4 separate regions of the Homo sapiens genome follow, and all the other regions are linked to region 1. Evidence: promoter capture Hi-C in human tissues and cell types (Jung and others, 2019). All regions are on one chromosome and are shown on one strand. Each heading gives the region's core, a stretch centred on a gene start or on the middle of the fragment in contact. The rest is flanking DNA. Distances are from core to core; before and after follow the strand shown.

The links. Contacts are between HindIII fragments. The study calls those that stand out against the background at their distance.
Region 2: a contact is called between a fragment that was not itself captured here and the fragment with the promoter of RAB6A in region 1, in 1 of the 25 tissues and cell types used here (adrenal gland).
Region 3: a contact is called between a fragment that was not itself captured here and the fragment with the promoter of RAB6A in region 1, in 1 of the 25 tissues and cell types used here (lymphoblastoid cells).
Region 4: a contact is called between a fragment that was not itself captured here and the fragment with the promoter of RAB6A in region 1, in 1 of the 25 tissues and cell types used here (liver).

What each region holds. Positions count from the first base shown.
Region 1 is chr11:73,759,423-73,763,050 of GRCh38, forward strand. It overlaps RAB6A (RAB6A, member RAS oncogene family), which reads right to left and starts at 1,652. Exons shown (of 8, transcript NM_198896.2): 1 at 1,144-1,652. The coding sequence starts at 1,213. It overlaps LOC124902711 (a long non-coding RNA gene), which reads left to right and starts at 1,736. Exons shown (of 2, transcript XR_007062775.1): 1 at 1,736-1,818; 2 at 2,315-3,628. RefSeq lists an enhancer at 803-1,303 and silencers at 1,600-1,909, 2,070-2,259. The HindIII fragment of the contact is 11,651 bases long and covers 1-3,215 here.
Region 2 is chr11:73,434,228-73,437,855 of GRCh38, forward strand. All of the region lies in intron 2 of FAM168A (family with sequence similarity 168 member A), which reads right to left. Among named protein-coding and RNA genes, the nearest start is that of RELT, 60 kb to the left of the region's middle. The HindIII fragment of the contact is 7,386 bases long and covers 1-3,628 here.
Region 3 is chr11:73,458,689-73,462,316 of GRCh38, forward strand. The region is part of intron 2 of FAM168A (family with sequence similarity 168 member A); the gene reads right to left. Among named protein-coding and RNA genes, the nearest start is that of RELT, 84 kb to the left of the region's middle. The HindIII fragment of the contact is 7,164 bases long and covers 1-3,628 here.
Region 4 is chr11:73,500,356-73,503,983 of GRCh38, forward strand. All of the region lies in intron 1 of FAM168A (family with sequence similarity 168 member A), which reads right to left. Among named protein-coding and RNA genes, the nearest start is that of FAM168A, 96 kb to the right of the region's middle. The HindIII fragment of the contact is 5,152 bases long and covers 1-3,628 here.

The DNA.
Region 1 (3,628 bases), core at 402-2,901:
CTGACCAGGTAAATGACATAACAATTTCACTCATCAGACAGTACAGAATATTAAGCATAAAAGAATTATTTAGCCCAAATGGTATTTAAATCTAATTTAGGTAACTAGATGATGAGTCTGTTCCTACTCTACTCCATTTTCCAAAGGAAATCCGACAAAACAAAGATGTTTGTTATTCCAAGCCTTCTCTCACATGAATCCTCAATATATCATTGGAAAATACTCAAGAAGGAATGAATAATTAACATTTCCCCAGTAATTCCCTTTTGTACCACCATGAGACTCAGACGCTGCTTCATGTTGAAAAGAGAAAAAGGGGAGGTGAGATGAGAAAAATTCCAAGTAAAATGATCATGACATAGCATCTGGCAGAGATTGAAAAATCATCAACATTGCCAAAAGAATTGTCAGTGATGAAAGTCAAGAGAACAAAATGAGGTTTTCCGACAAGCCACAGCCCCATCTAACCTAAGGGGCAAAAATCTCCACTGCCGACGCTACCCCTTTCACCCCCAACCACCCCATGCTCAAGTCGTCTCCAATTCAGATGTTTCCTCTATGGCCCAGACTAATTTCCCACCCAGGTGAAAATCATTTAATTTTTTCTACTACCACCCCTTCCCACCTTCCACGACATCAGCACTTCGCAGGGCCAAGCCTCTGGGGAAAACAACGCCCAGATCCCACCCTCCTTGGCCAAGGTTGAAGAGGGCCCGCTCTCGGGAGTGGGGCTTCCCTGAGTGGGCCTCACAGAGCTGAGGAACTGGGAAAAGAGCAAGGAATAAGGGTGGGGCTCAAGAAAGGGGGCCGGGGTACGGGCAATGACCGAGACCGGAGGAAGAAAGGGATGGACAAGAGGCTGGGCGGGGTGAGGTCTGGGGAGGGAGGGCAGATCGACCGGAGATGGCCGGACTGCGGGGAACGGAGCCGGGGAGTCGAGGATTGAAGAACCCGGGGAACAGGGTAAAAACTCGGCCACTGGCGAAGAGCCAGTGGCACCGGGGGGCACATCGGGAAGGGCTGCGGTGGCAACGAGCGCGGACGCGAGGCGGGCAGGGAGCCTCCGCGGACGGAAGGGCCGCACCGGGGGCGGTGCGGGGACGCTGCGGCCAGCTGCCAGGAGTAGGGGAGCCACGCACTCACCGCTTTGCTCCCCCAGGAACACCAGCTTGAATTTCCTCAGCGGATTCCCGAAGTCTCCGCCCGTGGACATTGTGGAACTAGAGGAGCGGCCGCCGCCTCAGCCTAGAGACCTCCCGGACCGATGCTGCTCCAGCCAGCTGACGAAAAAGGCGAGCGGAAGGGCGGGCACCGAGCTCTCTCGGCCCCTGCAAGGCCCGGTGGAGGAGCCCGGCTGGAGGGCAGCAGGACTCTCCACAGACTGGCAGCCGCCGCCGCCTCCCGGCAGAGTAGCCTAGCACCGAGCGAGGCCCGCGGCTGGGAAGGGAAGGAGGGCGGTGTCGGCAGGAGCCAGGGGTGTCCTCTGGCTTCCCAAAGCTAGGGCCGTTCCCTCCTTCCGCACTCGGCTCCCAGACCTGGGGAAGAGAAGCTGAGGGTGGCGGAGCCGGAACCGCAGACGTATCTGGGACCTCTCACGCGCAGCGCCTGAGCTTCCACAGCTGCCGCCGCCGCCGCAGCCCAACCTGCTGAGTGCGCGAGCCTCTGGAGCGGCGCGGGGCGAGCCCGGGCGCGAGCCTGCGGCCCCGCCGGCCGCTGGCGTGCGTGCGTGCGTGCATGCGTGCGCGCCACCGCCATCGCCATCGCCTTCCTGGTTTGGACAGCTCTACCGGCTCCTCCCGCACGGCGGCGACGGGGCAGGTTAGGTTTCCACTGGCGTCAAAAGAAGCCAGGAGGAGGCGGGGCAAGCCAGGGATAAGTTAGTGGGAGGCTGGAGCCCTTACGTCACTTACATAATGAGCCAATCGGAAGGGGCTGAGGGCGAGCCCACACGCGAGTGAGGTGGCAGCGTGAGAGCGCGCGCAGCCCTCGAGCTGTGGAAAGCGGAGCACTGTGGCGGCCATAAGAAGTGTGGCGCCTCTCAGCCTGAGGGGAGGGGAAGGAAAGAAAGGGGAGGGGGAGAAGGGTGGGGCGGAGGCGGGGCCGGGACAAAGGTGGAATATGATCCCCCAAAAAGTGTGGGTGGGGTCCTATAGCCTTAAAATTTGTAATGGGAGCCTCTTTCCTGAGCCCTCAGCCGTGCCTCACAGTCCTCAGATCCCTTCTTCACCATTGCACACACCCCACCTTCTCCATCCTCTCATCATAATTCCTCACAGGCATCTTACTAAATAACATTCTCCTCCATTGCTCCCAGGAATGTTATAACTGCCAGAATCATGGCCTCCCAATTTTGCAGATGAGGAAACTGAAGCTTAGAGGGAGTAAATGACTTGCAAAATCCATAAAGCGGGCTGGGCGCGGTGGCCCACGGCTGTAATCCCAGCACTTTGGGAGGCGGAGGCGAGTGGATCACGAGGTCAAGAGATCGAGACCATCCTGGCCAACATGGTGAAACCCTGTCTCTACTAAAAATGCAAAAATTAGCTGGGGGTGGTGGCGCGCGCCTGTAGTCCCAGCTACTCGGGAAGCTGAGGCAGGAGAATCGCTTGAACCCGGGAGGCGGAGGTTGCAGTGAGCCGAGATCACACCACTGCACTCCAGCCTGGCGACAGAGCGAGACTCCATCTCAACAGAAAAAAAAAAAAAAAAAAAAAAAAAAAGCCGGGCGTGGTGGCTCATCCCTGTAATCCCAGCACTTTGGAAGGCTGAGTTGGGTGGATCACCTGACGTCAGGAGTTCCAGACCAGCCTTGGCCAACATGATGAAACCCCATCTCTACTAAAAATACAAAAAATTAACGTGGTGTGGTGGCGGGTGCCTGTAATCCCAGCTACTTGGGAGGCTGAGGCAGGAGAATCGCTTGAACACGGGAGGCGGAGGTTGCAGTGAGCCAAGGTCACACCATTGCACTCCAGTCTGGGCAACAAGAGCGAGACTCTGTCTCCAAAAAAAAAAATCCATAAAGCAGCTGGGCGCGGTGGCTCACGTCTGTAATCCCAGCACTTTGGGAGGCCGAGGCGGTAGAATCGCTTGAGCCCAGGAGTTCGAGACCAGGCTGGGCAACAAAGCAAGACACTATCTCTACAAAAAATAAAATAGCCGAATATCGTGGTGTGCTCCTGTAGTTCCGGCTACTCAGGAGCCTGAAGCAGAAGGATTGCTTGAGTCCAGGAGTTGGAGGCTGAGGTATGGCACCACTACACTGAAATCTGGGTGACAGAACAAGTCCCTGTCTTAAAAAAAAAAAAAAAAAACAAAAAAACTTTCTAAGTGAATAATAAAAAATATGTCCTTACATTTGTGTCTATACACAAATGTATATCATTTGTGTATATCATTCACAAAACATTTATGTACTTTTTCTCATTATTGGGGAGTTATTTGCTTAGCTGTAGAAATGACAGGATTGAAAAAGTGCCTTCTCAGGCCCAGGGATGAATTGCTGACCTAGAATAAATTACAGGGAAGAACCAAAGTTCTTAAAATATCATCTATTCTGGCCTATCAAGACAACAGCTATATCCTCAAACCATCTCTATCAAAATTTACTCCCTTCTGGTTCCTCTCC
Region 2 (3,628 bases), core at 598-3,097, 320 kb before region 1:
TCAGTGAACAAAACAAAGATTCCTGCCCTTGTGGAGTTTATATCCTAAGAGGGTGGGAGAAGGCACCCTTGGATAAATATTAAACATAAAGTCTTCAGTGCTATGGAAAAGAGAAAATGGGCAAAGTAAAGGGAACCAGAAGTGCCAAAGTGTCGAGGGTAAGGGCACTGCAATATTAAACATGATAATCAAAGTAAGACATATTGAGAAGGTATTATTTTTGCAAAGGCTTAAAGGAAATGATAGTGTTAAGCAGATAGCTGAAGGAGTGTTTTAGACAAAACAGTCAGTGCAAAGGCCCTAAGGTGACAGCATATGGGACAATGTTGGAGGAACAGCAAAAAGGCCAGTGTGGCTGGAATGGAACAAATGAGGGGGCAGTAGTAGTAGAGTAAGTCAGAGAGGTAAAGGGCTGGCCAGTTCATGTAGGGCTTTACAGGCCACTGTGAGGACTTAGACTTCTATTCTGAGTGAAATGAGAAGACCTCATAGGGTTTTCAGCAGAAGAATAACATGCTTTGACTTATGTTTGAAAAGGGTCACTCTGATTGATGTGTTGAAAACAGACTATAAGCGGGTAGAGAAGCATAGCAATCAGCTGAGAGGCTACTGCAAGCTCCTGGCAATAGATGTGGGATTCAGGGAAATAGTGGAGGTTTGAAGAGACGTGACATCCCAAGAACCTTCACATACTTTGCCATACTGTTTTCTAGAAAGACCATCAATTTGTACTTGTTCTAGCAGTGTATAAGTGCCTGTCTCACTGCTTCCTGCAGTTGTTAAATGCTCACTGGTATTCTGACTGACAATGAAAAGCTGGTTTTAAAAGTCAAAGATTAAATCCCTAAATCCCTAAAAGCTTCTTTGGGATTTGTAAATACTGGAGCTTTAATAATGTATCTTTGTTAATATGCCTTTCCCTAAATCCTTTCCAATTCCAAAGAAAATTCATCTCTTTACCCCCTGATCATTTTCTGATTTTAGAACTGAGGTAGCTAACTTGTTGATTAATTAGCAATCTGGAGGTGTGCTACTTCTCAAGAAGAAAGTCAGGGGTCTAATCTGGGAAGCCAGGTGATCCAGTCTCATAGCCAAAATCTGTACTCAGCTTCATGTGAGAAATTGTGCAGCCACAGGTAATCACACTCCTGTTTTGTCATTTCAGATGTCTTTCACTTTAGGGGCAATTATAGGATGTTCCTTCAATGTTTCCAAGTGGAATTATTTTTAATTCACTTGAATTTGGCAGATATTATATAATGGCAGCATTACAGGGAGCTTTATTTGGTCCTCCCTCCCTCTCTTTCCTTCCTTTCTTACTTCTTTTCTTACCTTCCTTCCTTCCCTTCTTACTTTACTTATTTATTTATTTATTAATTACAGGATCTCAAGCATTGCCTGAGTCCAGGAGTTTTATAACTGTTAATACATTATGTCTGGTCAGGTATGGTGGCTCACACCTGTAATCTCAACACTCTGGGAGGCTGAAGTAGGAGGATTGCTTGAGCTCAGGATCTCTACAGTCTTGTGACACATGACTGTACACTGAGTTCTTGAAAAGACATACCGTCTCTATTTCACTCATTTCTCATACAAAAGATATTTTCGCATTTGCTTTTCATTTGAGCCTCAAATCAATCCTAATGTGATTTCTCCCATTTTATAGCTAATCAAATAGAGGTTGAGAGGTGAAGTAACTTTCTGGTTAAGATTATTCAGCAAGTCAGTGGTCGAATTGGGAAGGGAATCCCAAAAGCAATGCCTTTTCCACACCTACCAAATAATTATCACTTTGTCCTTAGAAACAAGCCTGCCCCTTTTGTATTTGTATTTTTTGAAGGTCAAGAGTGAAGAGAATAAATGGACACAAGTTAGCTTTTTTCCTTTATATCCTAAAGGCTGCAGTAGTGATCAGGTATTCTGGGATTTTGATGTGTACATTTTAATTGCTTTATAGATGTCAATACAATCTAAGCCTCTTTTCTTGTTGGTACTAGGATTAGGACTAAAGAAATGTAAAGCTATTTTTTGATTAATATGGAAATTAGAAATTACTTTCAACAGAAATCAGGGGACTATTTCTGAAAATACTTTACCTTTAGGAGCTTAAAATAGCAGAGTATCAAAAGGCCAGAGGAAGACAAACTCCCTGGCTCAGAAAGACAAAGAGGCTTACTTCTTTGTGAGCAGGAGAATACTTAGGCAATGAAGACATTTTAGGTCTGAAGCTCACAATTAAAAAGAAAACTGCCCTGCAAATGACCCCCTAGGGTGATCAAAACCAAAACAATGACCAAAAAAAAAATCTTTATTCTCTCAAGATAATAAAGAAGAGGGCAAGAGGAAGGATGTAATTTTGAATCTGTATTATGTTCTGGCCACTGTGCTAGGCACTTCTATATCTGATTTAATCTCTACCCAAAGTCAACAAAATATATTACTAGTTCCATTTTAGAGAGAGGATATTAAGACTTCTCTTACAGAGCTAATAAGTAGAGAGTGGAGACAGAACCCATTCCTACCAACCTCCCTGCCTCTCCTCAAAATGAGTCTACTCAGAGAAAATCTCTGGATTTGGCTGCCATTTACTTTGCCAAAATTCTTTTACTTTATCTTCAAAACCAAGGAAAAAAGGAAATTACTCTGGAGAGTCAATTTGGTCAAAGATGGCTGTGTTTAAGAAAAGAAATAAAACAACAACTACTGTTTCCACTCAGTGGAAAGGTCATGGTTGTGTTATTGAAAAGTATCACAGGCACTGAATTATAGAGTTGGAAGGGGTATTAGAGGTGATTGAGTCCAACTTGTCACTCAGCACAGGAATACCCTTTATAGTGGCACACATGACTGGCAGCATAGCCTCTGCCAGCATACTTTTTTTTTTTTTCCAAGACGGAGTCTTGCTCTGTCTCCAGGCTGCAGTGCAGTGGCGCTATCTCGGCTTACTGCAACCTCCGCCTCCTGGGTTCAAGCAATTCTCCTGCCTCAGCCTCCCAAGCAGCTGGGATTACAGGCACATGCCACCCCACCTGGCTAATTTTTGTATTCTTAGTAGAGATGGGGTTTCATCATGTTGGCCAAGCTGGTATTGAACTCTTGACCTCGTGATCCACCCACCTCGGCCTCCCAAAGTGCTGGGATTTACAGGTGTGAGCTACCACGCCCGGCCACTCTTTTTTTTTTTTTTTTTTTTTGAGACAGAGTCTCACTCTATCGCCCAATCTAAAGTGCAGTGGTGCGATCTCAACTCACTGTAACCTCTGCCTCCTCGGTTCAAGCAATTCTTCTGCCTCAGCCTCCCGCAGCATACTCTTCTAATGATGGTATGCTCAGAACCTCTTCAGTGAGTCAAAGCACCGACTGGAGAGCTCTGAAGTTAGAAAATTCTTCACTCTGAGCTAAAAATCTGACTTATTAAGAATCTTACCCTGAACATTTTTTCAGCCACTGGAGTGCAGAGGCTGAGGCAGGAGAACTGCTTGAACCCAAGACACAGAGGTTGCAGTGAGTCGAGATCGCACCATTGCACTCTAGTTCCTGGTCCTAGTTCTACCCTCACAGAACATGTCTGTTTCCTCTCCTCCTGGACAGCTTGCTAGAGATATGAAGATATCCATGATTCCTCCTG
Region 3 (3,628 bases), core at 434-2,933, 300 kb before region 1:
CAACCTCCGCCTCCCGGATTGAAGTGATTCTCCTGCCTCAGACTCCCGAGTAGCTGGGATTACAGGTGCCTGCTACCACGCCCGGCTAATTTTTTGTACTTTTAGTAGAGATGGGGTTTCACTATGTTGGCCAGGCTGGTCTCAAACTCCTGACCTCATGATCCGCCCGCCTTGGCCTCCCAAAGTGATGGGATTACAGGCGTGAGCCACTGCACCCAGCCTCTAATAGAAATTTCTACCTCACAGTGCTTGTTGTAAGGATTAAATGAGATCACAAATCGTAACTTTAAGTTGTAAAGTATTGTGCTTCTTATGTATTATTATATGCGGTTTTGTGAGCCTTTGTTCTCACATGCTTCAGAGAAAATTTGTCCTGGAAAGTCAAACTTTGTTTTTGTTTTGTTTTGTTTTTATAGACGGGGTCTTGCTCTGTCACCCAGGCTGGAGTGCAGTGGCGTAATCATGGCTCACTGCAGCCTCAACCTCCTGGGCTCAAGCAACCCTCCCACCTCAGCCTCCTGAGTAGCTGGGACAACAGGCATGTGCCACCATGTCCAGCCAATTTTTAAATTTTTTTTTGTAGAAATGAGGTCTCACCCATCCTGGCTAACACAGTGAAACCCCGTCTCTACTGAAAATACAAAAAAATTAGCCGGGCGTGGTGGCATGCGCCTATAGTCTCAGCTACTCGGGAGGCTGAGGCAGGAGAATGGCGTGAACCTGGGAGGCGGAGCTTGCAGTGAGCCGAGATTGCACCACTGCACTCCAGCCTGGGCGACAGAGCAAGACTCTGAGTCAAAAAAAGAAAAAAAAAAGGAAAAAGAAAAAAAAAAGAAATGAGGTCACACTATGTTGCACAGGCTGGTCACATTTTGTTTTTAAAAGTCAAATGTCCTGAGCAAAGCAGCTGCCACTCAAAATGAGCTAGCCTAAGGCTGACTACATAGGTAATATAAGAGGTTTGAAGACAACTCTTCATTGCTAAATAGCTCAAAGGAATTGTCAAATTTCAACTATCATTGTTCTAAAAAAGAATAATTGCTGTAAACCAAGTAGGCAAGGAAAGAGGGTCTCTTGTTTTCTCTGAGGGTCTCTGCTCAGTCTCCATAAGACTCAAAAACAGAAAAGTCTCCCTGTTCCATCTGGTCTATCCAGAGGGGTTGACCAGTCACAACAGATAATCCAAATGAATTTTTTTTTTTTTTTTTTTTTTTGAGACGGAGTCTCTGTTGCCCAGGCTGGAGTGCAGTGGCACAATCTTGACTCACTGCAAGCTCCGCCTCCCGGGTTCACACCATTCTCCTGCCTCACCCTCCTGAGTAACTGGGAGTACAGGCGCCCACCACCATGCCTGGCTAATTTTTTGTATTTTTAGTAGAGACGGGGTTTCACCGTGGTAACCAGGATGGTCTCGATCTCCCGACCTCGTGATCCGCCCACCTCGGCCTCCCAAAGTGCTGGGATTACAGGCGTGAGCCACCGCACCCGGCCTCCAAATGAAATTTTTATTCACCTACAAAGCAGAAAAAAATCTCTCCCGCACTGGCTACCTGTCCCAGACTCTCCTTGCCATATCAGAGGGCTACTCATTAGCAAGGATAGACAAATCACAGGAGTCTTTTCCTCAAACCCATCTCATACTTCTCTGCTGTAACCTCCTTCATTCATTAGAGTCTCATCTCCTTCCCTTTATTTCTTTCTTCTCCCCCCTTTCTTCCTTCAAAATTTACTGAGAGCCAACTCTGTACCAGTCACTGTGCTAGGTACTGGGGATATAATGATGATGAATAATAAACAAAGGCTACTAATGCTTTTTTTTTTTTTTTTTTTTTTGAGACAAAGTCTCACTCTATTGCCCAGGCTGGAGTATAGTGGCACAATCTCAGCTCACTGCAACCTCTGCTTCCTGAGTTCAAGCGATTCTCCTGCCTCAGCCTCCCCAGTAGCTAGGACTACAGGAATGTGCCACCATGCCTGGCTAATTTTTGTATTTTTAGTAGAGACGGGGTTTCACCATGTTGGCCAGGCTGGTCTCGAACTCCTGACTTCAGGTAATCCACCCACCTCGGCCTTCCAAAGTGCTGGGATTACAGGCGTGAGCCACTGTGCCCAGCCCCTCAAAGCACTTTTGAAGTAAGCAGACACTATTATCCCTACTTTATAGAAGAAACTCAGAGAGGTGGGAAATGACCGAAGATAAGAGAGTTACCTTGTTTAAAGAAATCTAACTAAGTGTGTTGGAAATTAAAAAGCAGCTATAAGGTGAGCAGAAAGAGAACTAGATTGGCTGCCAGAGGTCTGGGTTCTACTTCCAGGTTTGACATCTATCTGTCCATCCATTTGTTGAAAAACTAGTCAATATTCATGGCATGCAGGGGCCTAGCTGGGTATTAGAGATACAGGAGTAAATCAGATACTGAATTCATTGTCAATCTTTTTTTTTTAAGACAAGGTCTCCACTCTTGTCACCCAGGCTGGGGTGCAATGGTACAAGCATGGCTCACTGAAGCCTTGACTTCCTGGGCTCAAGTGACCCTCCCAACTCAGCCTCCAGAGTAGCTGGAACTACAGGCAGGTGCCACCACACCCAGCTAATTTTTACATTTTTTTATAGAGATGAGGTCTCGCCATGTTGCTCAGGCTGGTCTCAAACTCCTGGCCTCAAGAGATCCTCCCCCATCAGCCTCTTAAAGTGCTGGGATTACAGGTATGAGCCACGGCACATGGCCCACTGTGAATCTTAAGTGCTTTCCTTAGGCACTTATTAGACCTCAGGTTTCTCATCTAAGAACAGGGTTGGATTTGATGGTCTCTAATCATCTTATAATTCTAAATAAAAACATAATACCAGCCACCAGATGGACTGAGAATATAGATAAATAGGATGAGCAGGAGATGGGCTGGAGATACCTGAATGGTAAGGTCATAAAAACTTTCTATTGCAAGCTAAGAAGTTTGGACTTTATCCAAAGGACAGTGAAGAGTCATTGAAGGGTTTTAAGCATTGGAGTGATGTCAAATTTTCAAGAGAGAAAAACGATTATGGCTATGTTATGTAAAGAACAGACTGGGGACAGGGGTATATGAAAGGAGTTAGGAAGTCCAGTTAAGAGGCAACTTAATCCCAGAAAGAGTAATAATGACCTGAATGATAACAGTGGAAAGATAGGGAAGAAAAGTCTAATCTAAGAAAGGTAAAGGAGGTTTTTTAAAAATAAAAAGAACATTTCATATCCATTATGATGGCTATTATTTAAAGAGAGAGAGAGAGAGAAAACAAACATTGGCGAAGCTGTGCAGAAACTGAAACTTTTATAAACCACAAGGGAGTATGTAAAATGCTGCAGCCACTAGGAAAACAGTATGGCAGTTCCTCAAAAAATTAAAAATAGAATTACTGTATGACCCAGCAATTCCACTTCTGGATATATACCCAAAAGAATTGAAAGCAAGGTCTTCAAGAGATATTTGTACATCCATGTTCATAGCAGCATTATTTACAATAGACCAAAAGCAGAAGCAACCCAAGTGTCCACATACCACTGCATGCGGCATATACATAAAACAGAATATTATTATTCAGCCTAAAAAGGAAGGAAATCCTGACACACGGATGAAACCTGAGGTC
Region 4 (3,628 bases), core at 300-2,799, 260 kb before region 1:
TCAAGGGATTCTCCTGCCTCAGCCTCCCAAGTAACTGGGACTACAGGTGCCTACCAGCATGCCCAGCTAATTTTTGTATTTTTAGTAGAAGACAGGGTTTCACCATGTTATCCAGGCTGGTCTCGAACTCCTGACCACATGATCCACCCACCTTGGCCTCCCAAAGTGCTGGGATTACAGGCATGAGCCACTGCACCCAGCCTCAACCCAGAATTTCATATCCAGCCAAACTAAGCTTCATAAGCTAAGGAGAAATAAAATCCTTTCCAGACAAGCAAATGCTGAGGGATTTCATTACCACCAGGCCTGCCCTGCAAGAGCTGCTGAAAGAAGCACTAAATATGGAAAGGAAAAACCAGTACCAGCCACTGTAAAAACACACCAAAATATAAAGACAAATGACACTATGAAGAAACTGCATCAACTAGTATGCAAAATAACCAAACAGCATCATGATGACAGGATCAAATTCACACATAACAATATTAACCTTAAATGTAAATGGGCTAAATGCCCCAATTAAAAGACACAGACTGGCCAATTGGGTAAGGAGTCAAGACCCATTGGTGTGCTGTATTCAGGAGACCCATCTTATGTGCAAAGACACACACAGCCTCAAAATAAAGGGATGGAAGAAAATTTACCAAGCAAATGGAAAGCAAAAAAAAAAAAAGCAGGGGTTGCAATCCTAGTCTCTGACAAAACAGGCTTTAAACCAACAAAGATCAAAAAAGACAAAAAAGGGCATTACATAATGGCAAAGGGAACAATTCAACAGGAAGTGCTAACTATTCTGAATATATATGCATCCAATACAGGAGCACCCAAATTCATAAAACAAGTTCTTAGAGACCTACAAAGATACTTAGACTACCACACAATAATAGTGGGAGACTTTAACACCCCACTGTCAGTATCAGACAGATCAATGAGACAGAAAATTAACAAGGATATTCGGGACTTGAACTTAGCTCTGGATCAAGTGGACCTGGTAGACGTCTACAGAACTCTACCCTAAATCAACAGAATATACATTCCTCTCAGTGCCACATGGCACTTATTCTAAAATCAACCACTAATTGGAAGCAAAACACTTCTCAGCAAAAGCAAAAGAACTGAAATCATAACAAACAGTCTCTCAGACCACAATACAATCAAATAGAACTTAGGATTAAGAAACTCGCTCAAAACCACACAATTTCATGGAAATTGAACAACCTGCTCCTGAATGACTCCTGGGTAAATAATGAAATTAAGGCAGAATCAAGAAGTTCTTTGAAACCAATGAGAACAAAGAGACAACGTACCAGAATCTCTGGGACATAGCTAAAGCAGTATTAAGAGGGAAATTTACAGCACTAAATGCCCACATCAGAAAGCTAGAAAGATCTCAAATCGACACCCTAACATCACAATTAAAAGAGCTAGAGAGGCAACAGCAAACTAATCCAAAAGCTAGCAGAAGGCCGGGCGCGGTGGCTCAAGCCTGTAATCCCAGCACTTTGGGAGGCCAAGGCGGGCAGATCACAAGGTCAGGAGATCAAGACCATCCTGGCTAACACGGTGAAACCCCGCCTCTATTAAAAGTACAAAAAATTAGCCAGGTGTGGTGGCGGGCGCCTGTAGTCCCAGCTACTCAGGAGGCTGAGGCAGGAGAACGGCATGAACCCCGGAGGCGGAGCTTGCAGTGAGCTGAGATTGCACCACTGCACTCCAGCTTGGGCGACAGATCAAAGCTTTGTCTCGAAAAAAAAAAAAAAAAAGGCTAGCAGAAGACAAGAAATAACTAAGATCAGAGAAGAACTGCAGGAGCTAGAGACACAAAAAACCCTCAAAAAAAAAATCAACAAATCCAGGAGCTGGTTTTCTGAAAAAATTAACAAAATAGATAGACTGCTAGCTAGACTAATGAAGAGAGAAGAATCAAATAGACAAAATAAAAAATGACAAAGGGGATATCACCACTGATCCCACAGAAATACAAACTACCATCAGAGAGTACTATAAACACCTCTACACAAATAAACTAGAAAATCTAGAAGAAATGGATAAATTCCTGGACACATATACCCTCCCAAGACTAAACCAGGAAGAACTCAGATCCCTGAATAGACTGATAAGAAGTCTGAAATTGAGGCAGTAATTAATAGCCTATCAACCAAAAAAAGTCCAGGACCACACGGATTTACAGCCGAATTCTACCAGAAGTACAAAGAGGAGCTGGTACTGTTCCTCCTGAAACTATTCTAAACAACTGAAAAGGAGGGACTCATTTTATGAGGCCTCATTTTATGAAGCCATCATCATCCTGATACCAAAACTGGGAAGAGACACAACAAAAAAAAGAAAACTTCAGGCCAAATATCCCTGATGAACATCAATGCAAAAATCTTCAATAAAATACTGGCAAACTGAATCCAGCAGCACATCACAAAACTTATCCACCACGATCAAGTCGGTTTCATCCCTGGGATGCAAGGCTGGTTCAACATATGCAAATCAACAAACATAATCCATCACATAAACAGATCCAAAGACAAAAACCACATGATTATCTCAATAGATGCAGAAAAGGCCTTTGATAAAATTCAACATGGCTTCATGTTAAAAACTCTCAGTAAACTAGGTATTGATGGAACATATCTCAAAATAATAAGAACTATTTATGACAAACCCACAGCCAATATCATACTCAACAGGCAAAAGCTGGAAGCATTCCCTTTAAAAACCAGTACAGGACAAGGATGCCCTCTCTCACCACTCCTATTCAACATAGTATTGGAAGTTCTGGCCAGGGCAATCAGACAAGATAAAGAAATAAAGCATATTCAAATAGGAAGAGAGGAAGTCAAGTTGTCTCTGTTTGAAGACAACATGATTTTATATTTAGAAAACCCCATCATCTCAGCCCAAAAACTTCTTGAACTGATAAGCAACTTCAGCAAAGTCTCAGGATATAAAATCAATGTGCAAAAATCACAAGCATTCCTTTACACCAACAATAGGCAAGCAGAAAGCCAAATCATGAATTAACTCCCATTCACAATCACTACAAAGAGAATAAAATACCTAGGAATACAGCTAACAAGGGATGTAAAGGACCTCTTCAAGGATAGCTACAAACCACTGCTCAAGGAAATAAGAGAGGACACAAACAAATGGAAAAACATTCCATGCTCATGGATAGGAAGAATCAATATAATGAAAATGGCCACACTGTCAAAATAATTTATAGATTCAATGCTATTCCCAAACAATTCACTGACATTCTTCACAGAATTAGAAAAAAACTATTTTAAATTTCATATGGAATCAAAGAAGACCCTGGATAGCCAAGACAATCCTAAGCAAAAAGAACAAAGCTGGAGGCATCATGCTACTATACTACAAGGCTTCAAACTATACTACAAGGCTACAGTAACCAAAACAGCATGGTACTGCTACCAAAACATAGAGACCAATGGAGCAGAACAGAGACCTCAGAAATAACACCACACATCTACAAACATCTGATCTTCAACAAAGTTAACAAAAACAAGCACTGGGGAAAGGATCTCCTATTCAGTAAATGGTGCCGGGAAAACTGGCTGGCCATATGCAGAAAACTGAAACTGGACCTCTTCCTTAC